3 separate regions of the Homo sapiens genome follow, and regions 2 and 3 are each linked to region 1. The links are contacts of gene promoters, found by promoter capture Hi-C in blood cells and fetal thymus (Javierre and others, 2016). All regions are on one chromosome and are shown on one strand. The core of a region is centred on a gene start or on the middle of the fragment in contact, and the rest is flanking DNA. Distances in the headings are between cores, read along the strand shown.

Region 1 (4,146 bases), core at 514-3,013:
TAAGACTGCCAGAGGGATGTAGAGCTAAGACTGCCAGAGGAATGTAGGAGAAAACAGTATTTTAGGGATGATCAATGAGGAGCACCAGTTTCCTTTAGATTTTGTCTCTAAATCTATATACACATTTATTAATCACCACCCATGGCATCATCTTGGACTACTAAGTGAAGTTCTAAATTTACATATATATGTGTGTGTGTGTATTCTCTTTCCCGTGGTTACTGACATAAAAAGCTCCATCTGAAAAGGCTCCCCTATTCAAGGAAATATAAATAGAGATGTTCAGCAGAATCTGCTAGGAAAGCAATGACCAGGAAAGGGAGCTATTTAACAGGAAGTTGCCGGCTTCTCCCTGTCTCTGCCTTACCTGTAATATACCCCAATATGTCCCTCTTCTATCTTGTGCACAGCTGAGAAGAGAGATGCACAAAAGAAACTGGAAGCCACAGCCACAACTGCTCCCAACTGAGCCATCAGTGAGCCTTTATCCTAGGGAAAAGACACGGGAAAATGTGTGTGGTCCAACGTGCAGGAGAAAAGGCCACAACAGCGAGAGGACCTCACCAAGCTGAGCTCCCTGCGAGTGACTCATATCCAGCCTGGTGTCGTGTGAACACAAGGCTAGATCTACAACTCGCTTCCTCCTCGTTCTCAGTCAACGTTCCCCTTTCTTTAACTGTAAAATTAGAGCCCCCACCGCACTGAGGAAGCACTGGCTCCGGATACAGCCGTTGCTCAAGGGAGAACCCGTGCCAGCTGGGTAGGGTTCAGAACACAGCCTTGTCTTCCTGTGAACACGAATGTGCTGTCACTGAACCTTTCCTACCAGTAGTAGGGAAGAGAGGCAGCTGCAGTACTTTGGCCCAAATTACAGAGGATGCCAAATGACAGGCAGTTGTGGCTATGTAATTCTGGTCAGAGTCTCCCACTCCTAATTGCCTGCAGTTTCAAAGGAAACCATTATTTACTCCTTTCAGATGCTGGAGTGGCAGAGCCAGCAGGCGAGCAGAGTTTCAAGGTAGGATTCGTTGGCCTCGCATCCACCTTCCCAGTTATTCCTTTGGCCCTAAACAGGACAGGGCTCTGAACAAGCCTGAAGCCACACTCCCCCCCATATACTTTGGCACTTTGCACCTGACAGATCCCCAAGCCCGTGGTCAGAGAGAAAGGCAATGTCCCAAACTGCGAGCCTCTAGGCTCCTAGGTCCAACCGCGTTCAGGCACCAGGACGCGGAGGAGTGGGATCCTGAACGCTGAATGATCTGGAACTATGGTGACTGACTGCAAAGTTCAGCTGTGCGTGCGTGGGCCCGTGAGCGCAGGGCGTGGATTCTGCCTCCCAGGTCTAACGTAACCGGGGCGCGGACATCTGCGAGGCGCTTATTTTACCGTGGCGGCCTCCGGCTACCGATCTGCAGTTGCGTCCTTTCCTGCCAGTGCCCTTCCCTCCCCGAGGTCACTCGCGCCCCTTCCCCGCCCCGTTCCGAGAGAGGGTCAAGCGCCCTGGTCTGGGGCTGCGGCTCCAATAGCCTCCGCTCGGTCCCCCTGCGGCTCGCAAGGAGAGGACGCGACAGAAAAGGGTTTCTGTCTCTCTCCAGGAGCGGGCCGGCTGAGGGAGAGAAGCTGCTGGGACTGAGGTTCCCGAAAGTGACGGGTCAGCCCCGACCCTGAGCGGCAGCTAGGCCCAGCGCGCGCACGAAGGGGCGGGGGCCGCGTACCAGGCTGTCCCTGCAGGCGCTCCGTACTCGTCCGAGCCCACGAGCAAGAAAACCGTCACACCCCTCAGCACGCGACTTCCTTCCGGGCCGTCGCTTCGATGACGCCATCAATTCACGCGAGAAGACCACACCCCCGCCCCGCGCTCGCTCTGCGCCCCGCCCCTCGCGCTCCCAGCGGTCAATGGCCGTAGCTGGCCGCCAGGGATCGCCCGCGACTTGGTCGGTGCGGTCCTGGACCTCGGTCTTGGGTATCCGTCCTGGGGCTGGGGATGAGGGCGGTGTTGGTGGGAGCTCCCCGAGAGCGAGCGGCAGGACGCGCATGCCCCGGAGTACTGAGACCCAGGGCGAACCTTTCCAAGGCGTTGACTTTGGGGATTGCTCCGGATTTCCTTCTGCATTAGGCCGAACCTGGTTCGTTTTGGTTTTTTTAGAGACAAGGTCTCGCTCTTTTGCCCAGGCTGGAGTGCAGTGGCACGATCATAGCTCACTACAGCCTCGAACTCCTGGGCTTAAGCGATCCTCCCACCTCACCCTGCTGAGTAGCTGGGACCACAGGCGCACGCCACGACACTTGACAATTTTATTTTTAGTAAAGACAGGGTCTTGGTATTTCTGGTCTCAAACTCTGGCTTCAAGCAATCCTCCTGCCTCGGCCTCCCAAACTGCTGGGATTACAGGCATGAGCCACCATGCGCGGCCTTTTTTTTTTTCTCTCCTTGATAAGGTACTGGCGAGTTGCAACTGTTTGCTTTCCTATAGCACAGCTGAAATGAAACAGTCTTTTCAATGTACAGATTAGCATCATTACCTCACCAATCAAAAATCCCTACCTTGAGTTGTTCTTTATATTTTTCTGGGAGCTTTGGCCCTTGGGATCCTGCAACGCCACAAAGTATATTAACAAGGAATTATTATTCTAATTTTAATGAACGGAATCTAAGAAGTTCAGCGAGGTTCAAGGGTAAAAGCCAAGGAAAGTTTCCTTTGTGTTTCCTTAATATCTTGAGTTCACTGCTTTTTAAACTCCTGCCACAGTGCACAGGGGCTAGTGCACTTCGTCTTTCTAGATAAACTGTACGTTCCCGGGAGAGCAGAGACTGACTTTCCTTCCGCACCCCCGGGGCTTAGGTGCCCAGTAAAAACAGACTGAAGGCAACGTGGGACCAGGCCCGGAATCCAGAGTTTGTGTCTCCTAGTCTAAGGGCCTCACGTTGTCCTCCACCTGCCCTATTCACCAGCATCACATTGGGGCATTTCTAATTCAGCCACTGAGGTTATTAATATTTTGTTTGCAGGAGAGAAAGAGTCCACTTAATTATAGCCTTCAGTAAAAGAAAAACTTTTACACCGGGAAGATGGCAAGCTGGTGGTGTTAGACAGATTTAAGACTCAGGAAAAGGGAAGTGTGGTTTTTTCCAGGCATGCCTGCTTGGGATTGGCCCGTTTACCTTTCCTGCGTTTGCTCTGGGTGTTGGGATGTTTCAGCATTACATGGTGAAACCCATACGAGGGTTACATGGTGCTGTCTGGGAGCTCTGTGCCCATCTCCATAAATGAAGGCCTTTCATCTCCCTACTCTGTCCCTGCATCCCCCACCCCAAACAGACACAGCTGGCCAATCTCTCGATCAATCCTATCAGAACTTGAGTTTTTTCTCTCCCTGTTCAGTGATATAACCTCAGCTGGGCATGCTTATTTAATAGTTTATTTAATAATTGAGTAAGAAAAATGGAAATATTAGGGTTCATCAACCCATGAAATGGGGGCTAGCCTGCAGCATCAAGTATTTAAATTACTTGTAATTTAAGAATTTCCTTTAACCAACCTCTGGCAACCCGTCTCCCCTCCCCTTCCCACAAATATGTATATTATTATGTGTCAATTAAAAATAATAAAAACACAAAAATTTCCTCACATTAAACTTTGGAGTGAATTGTGGCTAGAAGTTTTGGGATTTTGTTCTTAGGAGTCATTTTACCAGACCTGAGTTATTTAGTTGTGGACGTGCCTAAAGGCAGGGGGATGGACTTCGTGATGTGCTAGTACATGATGATCTAGTACTTCTGAAAATCTCTTTCTTAAGAGACCTGTGATTTTTATGTTACCCAGCAGATACATTTGTGATGATTTGTTTAACAAAAATGTTTACAATTTCTTTTTCTCCTTCCTTCCTTCCTTCCTTCCTTCCTTCCTTCCTTCCTTCCTTCCTTCCTTCCTGTCTCGCTCTGTCACCCAGGCTGGACTGCAGTGGCGCGATCTCAGCTCTGCAACCTTTGCCTCCCTTCAAGCGATTCTCCTGCCTCAGCCTCCCGAGTAGCTGGGGCTACAGACGCATGCCACCACGACTGGCTAATTTTTGTATTTTTAGTAGAGATGGGGTTTCACCACGTTGGTCAGGCTGGTATTGAACTCCTGACCTCAAGTGATC
Region 2 (4,146 bases), core at 478-2,977, 1.2 Mb before region 1:
TGCATTCATTCATTAATGCAATAAACATTTACTTAGCACCTGGTACATGTCATACGTTGGGCTGGCCATAATCTAGACTACAAGCTAGACCTCTGATAGTGCAAAAGTCATCTGCCTTCAGGCGGCACATGGTGAAGAGGGCTAATGTCTGAGATGATGATGATGCTTTCTAAAAGCTTACTCTGGCTTCTCAAAACAAGTGGGGGGCTTACAAGTCCTGTAAGCTCGCCAAAGACAGGGTCCAGCCCTCCAGAGGTAAAGGAAAAAGAAAAAATAAAGACAGGGGTTGTGTTTTGTTCATCACTGCCTTGCATGTATAATACATGTCAACTGAATGCAACTGAAATAGAAAGCAAAAACTTCTATTCTTTCAAGATCTTTTGCTTTGCTGTTTCGGAAGGCTTCGCAACCAAAGAAAAAAAATGACAAAAGAAGGGAAAATGGGACTTGGTCAGATAGATTAAGAACACCATTAGTGCAATCTTGGGACTTCAGCCCCAAGTGCATCTACAGCTCAGCCTTCAGAGCCCCCAGAGCCACAGCTGGCTTTCTGGTGGGGTGCTCTCCCCTCCCTCTTCTCTGCCGTTTACTGTCCTCTGAAAACCCCACTTGGAGCCCTAAAGAAAGAAAGGGGGCGGGCAGGAAGAAGGAATGAGAAGGGGAAGATACATCCTGAACCTGCGTTCACCAAGAAGGAAGGAAGCCAAACCCTAAGGCTAGGGCCTGGGGGCAGGGCTGGCCCCGGGGAGGAGATGTGAGGGTGCTCCGGCCGCAGCGGGCCCTGCGCCCCTCTCTGGGCGTGCAGGGACACTTTTCCCTTCTAAACGGCCTAGCTTCCCACCACCCCCCCCCACACCCTTCTTTTCTCTTTCTTTTTAAAAAAATTTTGGTGAAATCGTCTTTAGGACTGGAGGAGAAAAGGGAAGCGTGTAAGGTGAGGAAGAAGTTGGTGAGAGAGAGAACGACAGCTCCCCTCGAGGGCTCACCCAACCTGGCACCGAACCTGCATTTTAGGGCAGTCCTTTTCACTGTCTGGAGTTCCAGAAGCCCGAAGTCCAGGCTGCACCCAGAGGAAAGGACAGGAGTCCCTAGGGGAGCCTTCTAGGCCTGTCATTTAATAAGGTAGTCGGGGGAGTGAAAGAGGAGTCTCCATGGCCCAATCCGTACCCAAGGGACTTGCCTGGGGACGTTCTCTGCTCTCCTCCCCTCCCGCAGCCCGGGCAGTCGTTGCGGGGTCGGTGCCCCAGCGCCAGAACCCGCAGAGAAGTTTCGCTGCTGCAAACGTGAGAAAATGCAGCTCAGCAGAACTCCCGCCCCCACCCTCTCCGCGGCCCCACCCCCCGCAGCCCGACCCCTGGCGGCGGCGACCTTGGCCACCCGGGGCACTTGGAGGAGGGGCTGCCCTCGGGGCTCTCCCAGAGGGTTGGAGGAGGCCTCCAGGGTCTGCGGCCACCTCCCCTCGCCTGTCAGCCACTAGGACCGGCGTATTCAGCCCTGCGCGCGCGCCCCTCGCGCCCCTAGGCCGCCAGGCCTCCGCCGGGGCGCCCCCTGCACCCCCAGCCCCGCCAGCCCCCGCGCGCCCCTCTGCGCCTCTCCACTCCCGAGCCCGCGAGGGCGCCCAACTTACCCCCCCGTGCAGGGGCCGGGGCTCGGGCGGGGCGCGTTACATCGGGCGGGGTCGCCCCTCCGGCCGCCGGGTCCGCCGCGCTCCAGGGATTTCTGGGTCTGCCTGCCAAACTCTCCGCGCCTCTCGCTCCCCTCGCTCTGGTCTCCCCCAGTGCCCCCTCCTTCTCTCCCGTCCCTCGGCTCTTTTTTCCGGGTTAATTACGTTTCGCATTAAAGCAAAACCCAGCCCCGGATGTGAGTACAATGCTCCGCGGAGCCCGCCGGGGAGGGAGAGGGGTGCCGGGGCGCCGCGGGCTGGGAGGGGGTGCGGCCGGGCGCCGGGGCCGCGCGGGGGAGGCGGGGGCGGGGCGCCCGGAGGCTGCGCCCGAGGCCGCCCGCGTTCCGCGCCTGGCAGGTGGGACCTGCGCGCCGAGACTGCCCCGCGGGGAGGCCCGGCCCCGACGCTCGCTCGGGCAGCAGGTGTCCGGGCAGGGGGCGTCCTCGCAGGAGGAGGCGAGCTGGAGCGCGAGCTCCCTCAAGAACCCCATTTCCTCCTCCCAGAGCCCCACCCAGCGACCTCAGCTGGGCCTCCTTCGGATCCCGAGCCCTTAGCCTTTGGGGACCGAGGAGTTGGGGTAAGGGTTAGGGTCCCAAGAAGAGTGGCTTCTTCAGGTTGTCCTAAATGTGCCCTAAGAGACCAGTGGGCGGGAACGCTCTAACCAGGGTTATAAGGACTTTAATTTCTTTATTTTATTTTATTTTTTAATCAAGACAGGGTCTGGCTCTGTCGCCCAGGCTGGAGTGCGGTGGCGCAGTCATAGCTCACTGCAGCCTCGACCTCCTGGGTCCAGCGATCCTTCTGCCCCAGCCTCCCGAGTAGCTGGGACCACAGGCGCCTACACCGTGCCCGTTGGGACTTTTTCGGTGTGATGCGAAGACTCCCTTCCTGCCCCCAGAGCATGAGGGTGCTCTGGGAAAAAATGGGAAACAGACAAGCATGTGTTACTACGTAAACCTCGCCAAGAGGAACTAAGAGAGCTGCTGTGCGCGGGTCCCGCCCCTGCGCTATCTCATTTGATCCACGCCGCAACCTATGGGTACCAGTCCGGTTCACGGTGAGGAAACCGAGACTCAGACTTGTGAAGTAATTTGCCCTGGGTACCCAGTTAGTAAACGGCAGGTCTGTCAGGTTCTGACTCCGGCCTCCCACGTCGGGAGAGAGACATTTGAATATGCATCAAGTCAGGTGGACAACATCCGAAACATGAAAATGTAGAAGATTCGCGCGGGCCTGCGGGGCCGTGCGCCGGTGTCTGGCGATCCTAATGCAAACGTTGTTAATCAGGTGTAAATCCTACGAGGCTTTGAAAGAGGCAGGCATAAGAAGACGCTGAGGTTCTCCAGGACAAGGACTGGATTTGCAGGAAGGAGGGAGAGGCTGGGGCACATTCCCGGTGTTAACAGAGGAAAGGCGGCCTCTTATGTCTCCACGACCGACCGGAGGCCACAAGGCCTGGGGAGGGGGGCTCGGGCCGATGAGCCAGGACCGAGGGAGAAGGACAGCCCGCCCCACACACCCCGAAAGCACCAGTGATGAAACCACACAAGTTTCCTCTTCCATTTTGATTGCCAAAGCAAAAATGAACACCGCCGGTGTCTCAGGTGTGAAAAAAGACTGTTTGCTTTAGAGCATTTTGCTTTCAATGAGGAAGAAAAGGGGGACGATGGGCAAAACACACACACACACACACACACACACACACACACACACACACACACACATTTCCCTTGAAATAAATACATCAATGTCTTTTTTTTCCCCGTTCATGGAGGGTTTTGCCACTCATCTGTAAGTTTCAGGCACCAGAACAAACTGAAGAGCATCTCCTCTGGAAGCAAGGAACCTGGATTTGAAGCCCAGCTCTGCCGTTTACTGGCTTTGACCCCTGGGCAAGTTACTTAACTTCTCAATGCCTCTGTTAGGAAAAGTCAGTGAGTTAACATTTGTGAAGTGTTGAGATTCCTGTCGAACGTGAAGTAGGTGCTACGTAAATGTTTTTTAAATTTAAAAATTAGATGATCATTTTCAGTATGAAAAGCAACACAATTCCATCCAGCTCCAAGCAAATCCGACTGGAACTGAGGGTTTCCAGCATGAGCAATGAGGTAAATTTCTCAGATTTCAGGGTATGGTTCATATTAAACTCATAAAACTCTACTCCCCGTGGGGCTGCCTGAGTCACTCCATCACAGAGCCACAAGTATTTCCTGAGCACTACTGTTTTGGATGCTGGGAGGCAAAGAGAAGCAGAAGGCCTTGGGTGGCAAGAGAATACAGGTGTCTCTAGAAGGCTGAAGCAGGCTTGTGCCCTGGGAATGGCACAGAGAGTAAGTGCTGTCAACTTTTAGAAGGACAAGATATAGCCAGGGGCAGTGGCTCACGACCTGTAATCCCAGCACTTTGGAAAACCAAGGCAGGAGGATCCCTTGAGTCCAGGAGTTCAAGACCAGCCTGGACAACTAGGGAAACTTCATCTCTAC
Region 3 (4,146 bases), core at 1,171-3,670, 1.0 Mb before region 1:
TGAATTTCCACAAGATCACCATGGTAGAGCCTAATTCCCTCACCCCACATCCTGTATCCATCTGTATCCATCATTTCCTTATTTCTTCTAGCAAAAGAACCCTCTGAATTTTTGCTGAGCACATGGTCACACAGCAAGAGGCCACGTTTCCTTCTCTACAACTAGGTGTGGCCTGTGACTCAGTTCTCACCCATGGGATGTGAGCACAAGGGGTAAGTGCAAATTTGGGGCAGTGTCTTTTTTTTCTCTTTTAGAGACAGAGTTTTGCTCTATTGTCCAGGCTGAAATGCAGTAGTGTAATCATATCTCACTATAGCCTCGAGCTCCTGGGCTCTAGCAATCCTCCCACCTCAGCCTCTTGAGTAGCTGGAAATCCAGGTGCACACCACCATGTCCAGCTAATGTTTTTTGTTTTGTTTTGTTTTGTTTGTAGAAACAGGGTCTTGCTGTGTTGCCCAGGCTGGTCTCAAATTCCTGGACTCAAGCAATTCTCACCCCTTGGCCTACAGAAGCAGTGGGATTATAGACATGAGCTATTGTGCCTGGCCCCTGGGCCAATGTCTTTAAAAAGAAAACTGCATGTCCAGCCTCTCCCGGCCGAAAAGTTGTGAACTGCGTGTCACAACTTCTGCTGTGTGAGGACCACACTCTGGACAGGATAGAGCCACAGAACAGACAGAACCCGCACCAGGCTGACTGGGGAGCAGAGCAGCCTGCGGCCCTAGACTAATTGCTGCCTGAGGACTGTTCCATGAGAGAGAAAAGTCTATCTTCTCTTTTTTTTTTTTTTTTGAGATGGAGTCTCACTCTGTTGCCCAGGCTGAAGTGCAGTGGCGTGATCTCGGCTCACTGCAACCTCTGCCTCCCGGGTTCAAGCAATTCTCCTGTCTCAGCCTCCAGAGTGGCTGGGATTACAGGCTCGTGCCACCACACCCAGCTGATTTTTGTATTTTTAGTAGACATGGGGTTTCACCATGTTGGCCAGGCTGGTATCGAACTCCTGACCTCAGGTGGTCCGCCTGCCTCAGCCTCCCAAAGTGCTGGAATTACAGGCGTGAGCCACCGTGCCCAGCCTAAAAGTCTATCTTCTTTATCAGACTGTGTCACTGGGCCCCTTTGTAACAGCAGCCTCATCTCCACCCTCACATTACAACCTCCTCTGGGGGATTTCAGCATCTAAGCTTCCTTAGATGAAGGTATGGGAAGAACCTGCCTTAAATTTCGTTCTACATTCTTCTGAACAGGATTACATGAAAGTTCCTTCAAAGATGGAAGCATTTTTAAAAATGATAAATCTACACAGGTTGAGCATCCCTAATCCAACAATCTAAAATCCAAAACGTTTTGCTTGTCAACATGACACCACAGTGGAAAATTCCACACCTAATTTCATGTGGCCAGTCACAGTCAAAACACAGTCAAAACTTTGTTTCATGCACAAAATTATTACAACTGCTGTTTAAAATTACCTTCAGGCTATGTGTAGAAGGTGTATATGAAACATAATGAATCTCATGTTTAGACTTGGGTCCCATCCCCAAGCTATCTCATTATGTATATGCAAATATTCCAAAATCTAAAATCTGAAACACTTCTGGTCCTAAGCATTTTGGATAAGGAACACTCTACCTGTATCTCAATGATGTCTTTTCTCAGGGCAGAAAATTCCCGAACCAAAAGACTCAAGCCTGCCCCGTGGATGATGTCCTAATTATCCTAAAAACAGGACTGAGACTACCCTTCCTTCTGCCGTAATGACTTGAGCTGTGATACTGACTTTCTAGAAATTAGGCAGTTGCATTTTTAAAGATGACTGATGTGGACAAAAACGTTGAAGAAGGAGGGAGTCAATATTTAGATTTCACAAAGGCCAAGTAGAATGGATTTACATATTGATGAAGGTTATTATTTTCTTTGGGGAGATTTCCTTGAAATAATATGATTGTATAACTCCAATATTTGCCCAATTCTAAGGATAAATAATAACAATAATAAATAATAACTGACCCAAATCCTATAAGTGAATTAATCATTGTTCTTTGGCTTCAACACTAACTGGTGCTAGTGACGATTTCTAGCACACACACAAAATATTTTTAGAAATTGTTTTCTTATGGGCTCAATTAGTCAAGTTATTTTGTTGTATTATTTTATAGAACTATGACAAGCAAGAGCGAGTTTATCCTTACCGGTCTTCCCTGTACCTCATCATGTATGATATAGGAATATCTTATGTGTTTTCTGTTTCCTTTGGCCAAGGCATAGACACTGAGCAGAATATATTTGTTTTACATTATTTTCTGAACAAATGATAAATCACTGCTACAGACTGACTGTTTATATCCCCCCAAAATTCATAGGTTAAAACCTAAACTCCAATGTGAGAATATTAAGAAGTGGGGCCTTTGGGAGGTGATTAGGTCATGAGGGTTCTTCCTGGGGTCAGCGCCCTTATAAAAGAGACCCCAGACAGCTCCCTCTCCCTTCTTCTGCCAAATGAGGACACAGGGAGAAGACATCCAGGAGGTCAGCCTTCACCAGATGTGGAATCTGCTGGTCCCTTAATCATGGGGACCTCCATCCTCCAGAACTTCCAGAAATAAATGACTGGTTTATAAACCACCCAGGCAATTATATCCTTATAGTAGCCTTAACAGACTAAGATAATCACTGACTCCTAACCTAAGCATCCATCTCAGATCTCATAGAACCACAGAAATTTTTAGCTGGAAAGGACCTTTGCCAAAGATCACTGGGTCGAATATCATTCTTTTTGGAAGAAGGTTTACTCAGGCACCAAAGTGCACAACTAGGATTCATAACCCTTGCAAGGAAGGTATGAAGGTATGAATTCTGGAGTTTCCCCCCAGCCCCAAAAGATATGCCCACTTGGTATGTATAATAGAGATATGACTTCTCCCCAAAATTCACCTCATTTTAAAAGGCACTGTAAATTGTTTTATAAAGCAAATACATACAAATAGTCTTGTACTTTGTTTTAAAAGTTTTTGGTTTTCATTTTTTTTTTTTTTTTTTTGAGACGGAGTCTCACCGTGTCACCCAGGCTGGAGTGCAGTGGTGCGATCTTCGCTCACTGCAACCTCTGCCTCTGGGGTTCAAGCGATTCTCCTGCTTCAGCCTCCCGAGTAGCTGGGATTACATGCATGTGCCACCATGCCCAGCTAATTTTTGTATTTTTAGTAGAGAGGGGGTTTCACCATGTTGGACAGGCTGGTCTCGAACTCCTGACCTCGTGATCCGCCCGCCTCGGCCTCCCAAAGTGCTGGGATTACAGGCGTGAGCCACCGTGGCTGGCCTTTAAAAATATTTTTATAGCCTAGGCAACATAGTGAGACCCCATCCCTTCAAAAACAAAAACAAAAAAAAATTAGCCTGGTGTGGCAATGCACACCTGTAGTCCTAGCTACTTGGGAGGCCAAGATGGGAGGATCATTTGAGCCCAGGAATTCAAGGTTGCAGTGAGCTGTGATGCTACCACTGCACTTCAGCCTGGGCTATAGAGTGAGACTCTGTCTCAAAACAATAATAAAAAATGTATTTTTAAATACCTTTAGTGTTTAAGGCAAAATAATACATATGTTCATTCATTCATTCATTCATTCATTCATTCCACAAATTTGACAAATGACCAAGCTTTGCCAGCCTCTGCTGAACACTGTGTTGAACAAAAGAGACCCAGTTCCTGCCCTCATAGAACTTGCATATTAGTGAGCTTAGTAAGCCAACAAATAAATATGTAATATATAAATTGTCATGTATGAAATATAAGAACTGCAGGGGGCTCTGAGAATGGCTGGTGGACGGCATCGGTGGAGATGTCAAGGGAGGTTGCTCTGAAGGAGTGACAGACTGAAGCCTCAGGGATAGGCAGAAGCTGCCTGGGTGAAGTGTAGGGTAACAGCGTTCCTTCATCAAGACACTAAGGACAGAAGCAGCCTCCAGTTTTGAGTAAGCGTGGTTGAAGAGCAGCTGCTGGAGGGAGGAGAGGGGCTTAGGCTGGTGAAGTGGGAGAGGCACAAGGCATGACAGCCTAGAAGACCATGTTAAGCATCCTTGTCTCTGAAAAAGTGAATTTTTGACTACATAGGCAGTTCAAAGAAGAAAGAAAAACCTGCCCATAGTATT

The links. The method cuts DNA at HindIII sites, captures the fragments that hold promoters and counts their contacts. A CHiCAGO score of 5 or more calls a contact.
Region 2: a contact is called between the fragment with the promoter of PLEKHA2 here and the fragment with the promoter of ERLIN2 in region 1, in 5 of 17 cell types (naive CD8 T cells, total CD4 T cells, naive CD4 T cells and 2 more). The highest score is 8.8, in naive CD8 T cells.
Region 3: a fragment that was not itself captured here is called in contact with the fragment with the promoter of ERLIN2 in region 1 in 1 of 17 cell types (activated CD4 T cells); the score reaches 6.1 in activated CD4 T cells.

What each region holds. Positions count from the first base shown.
Region 1 is chr8:37,734,251-37,738,396 of GRCh38, reverse strand. ERLIN2 (ER lipid raft associated 2) reads right to left here and starts at 1,763. Exons shown (of 12, transcript NM_007175.8): 1 at 1,719-1,763; 2 at 368-489. The coding sequence starts at 474. It overlaps LOC102723701 (a long non-coding RNA gene), which reads left to right and starts at 971. Exons shown (of 2, transcript NR_125821.1): 1 at 971-1,018; 2 at 1,599-3,636. RefSeq lists enhancers at 409-1,201, 1,681-1,890. The HindIII fragment of the contact is 8,102 bases long and covers 1-4,146 here.
Region 2 is chr8:38,898,927-38,903,072 of GRCh38, reverse strand. PLEKHA2 (pleckstrin homology domain containing A2) reads right to left here and starts at 1,727. Exons shown (of 12, transcript NM_021623.2): 1 at 1,628-1,727. It overlaps LOC124901937 (a long non-coding RNA gene), which reads left to right and starts at 1,628. Exons shown (of 2, transcript XR_007060893.1): 1 at 1,628-1,860; 2 at 2,377-3,823. RefSeq lists silencers at 1,056-1,725, 1,806-2,215 and enhancers at 2,816-3,065, 3,126-3,315. The HindIII fragment of the contact is 6,068 bases long and covers 179-4,146 here.
Region 3 is chr8:38,773,902-38,778,047 of GRCh38, reverse strand. It overlaps a transcript of TACC1 not described here. Among named protein-coding and RNA genes, the nearest start is that of TACC1, 11 kb to the left of the region's middle. The HindIII fragment of the contact is 2,473 bases long and covers 1,184-3,656 here.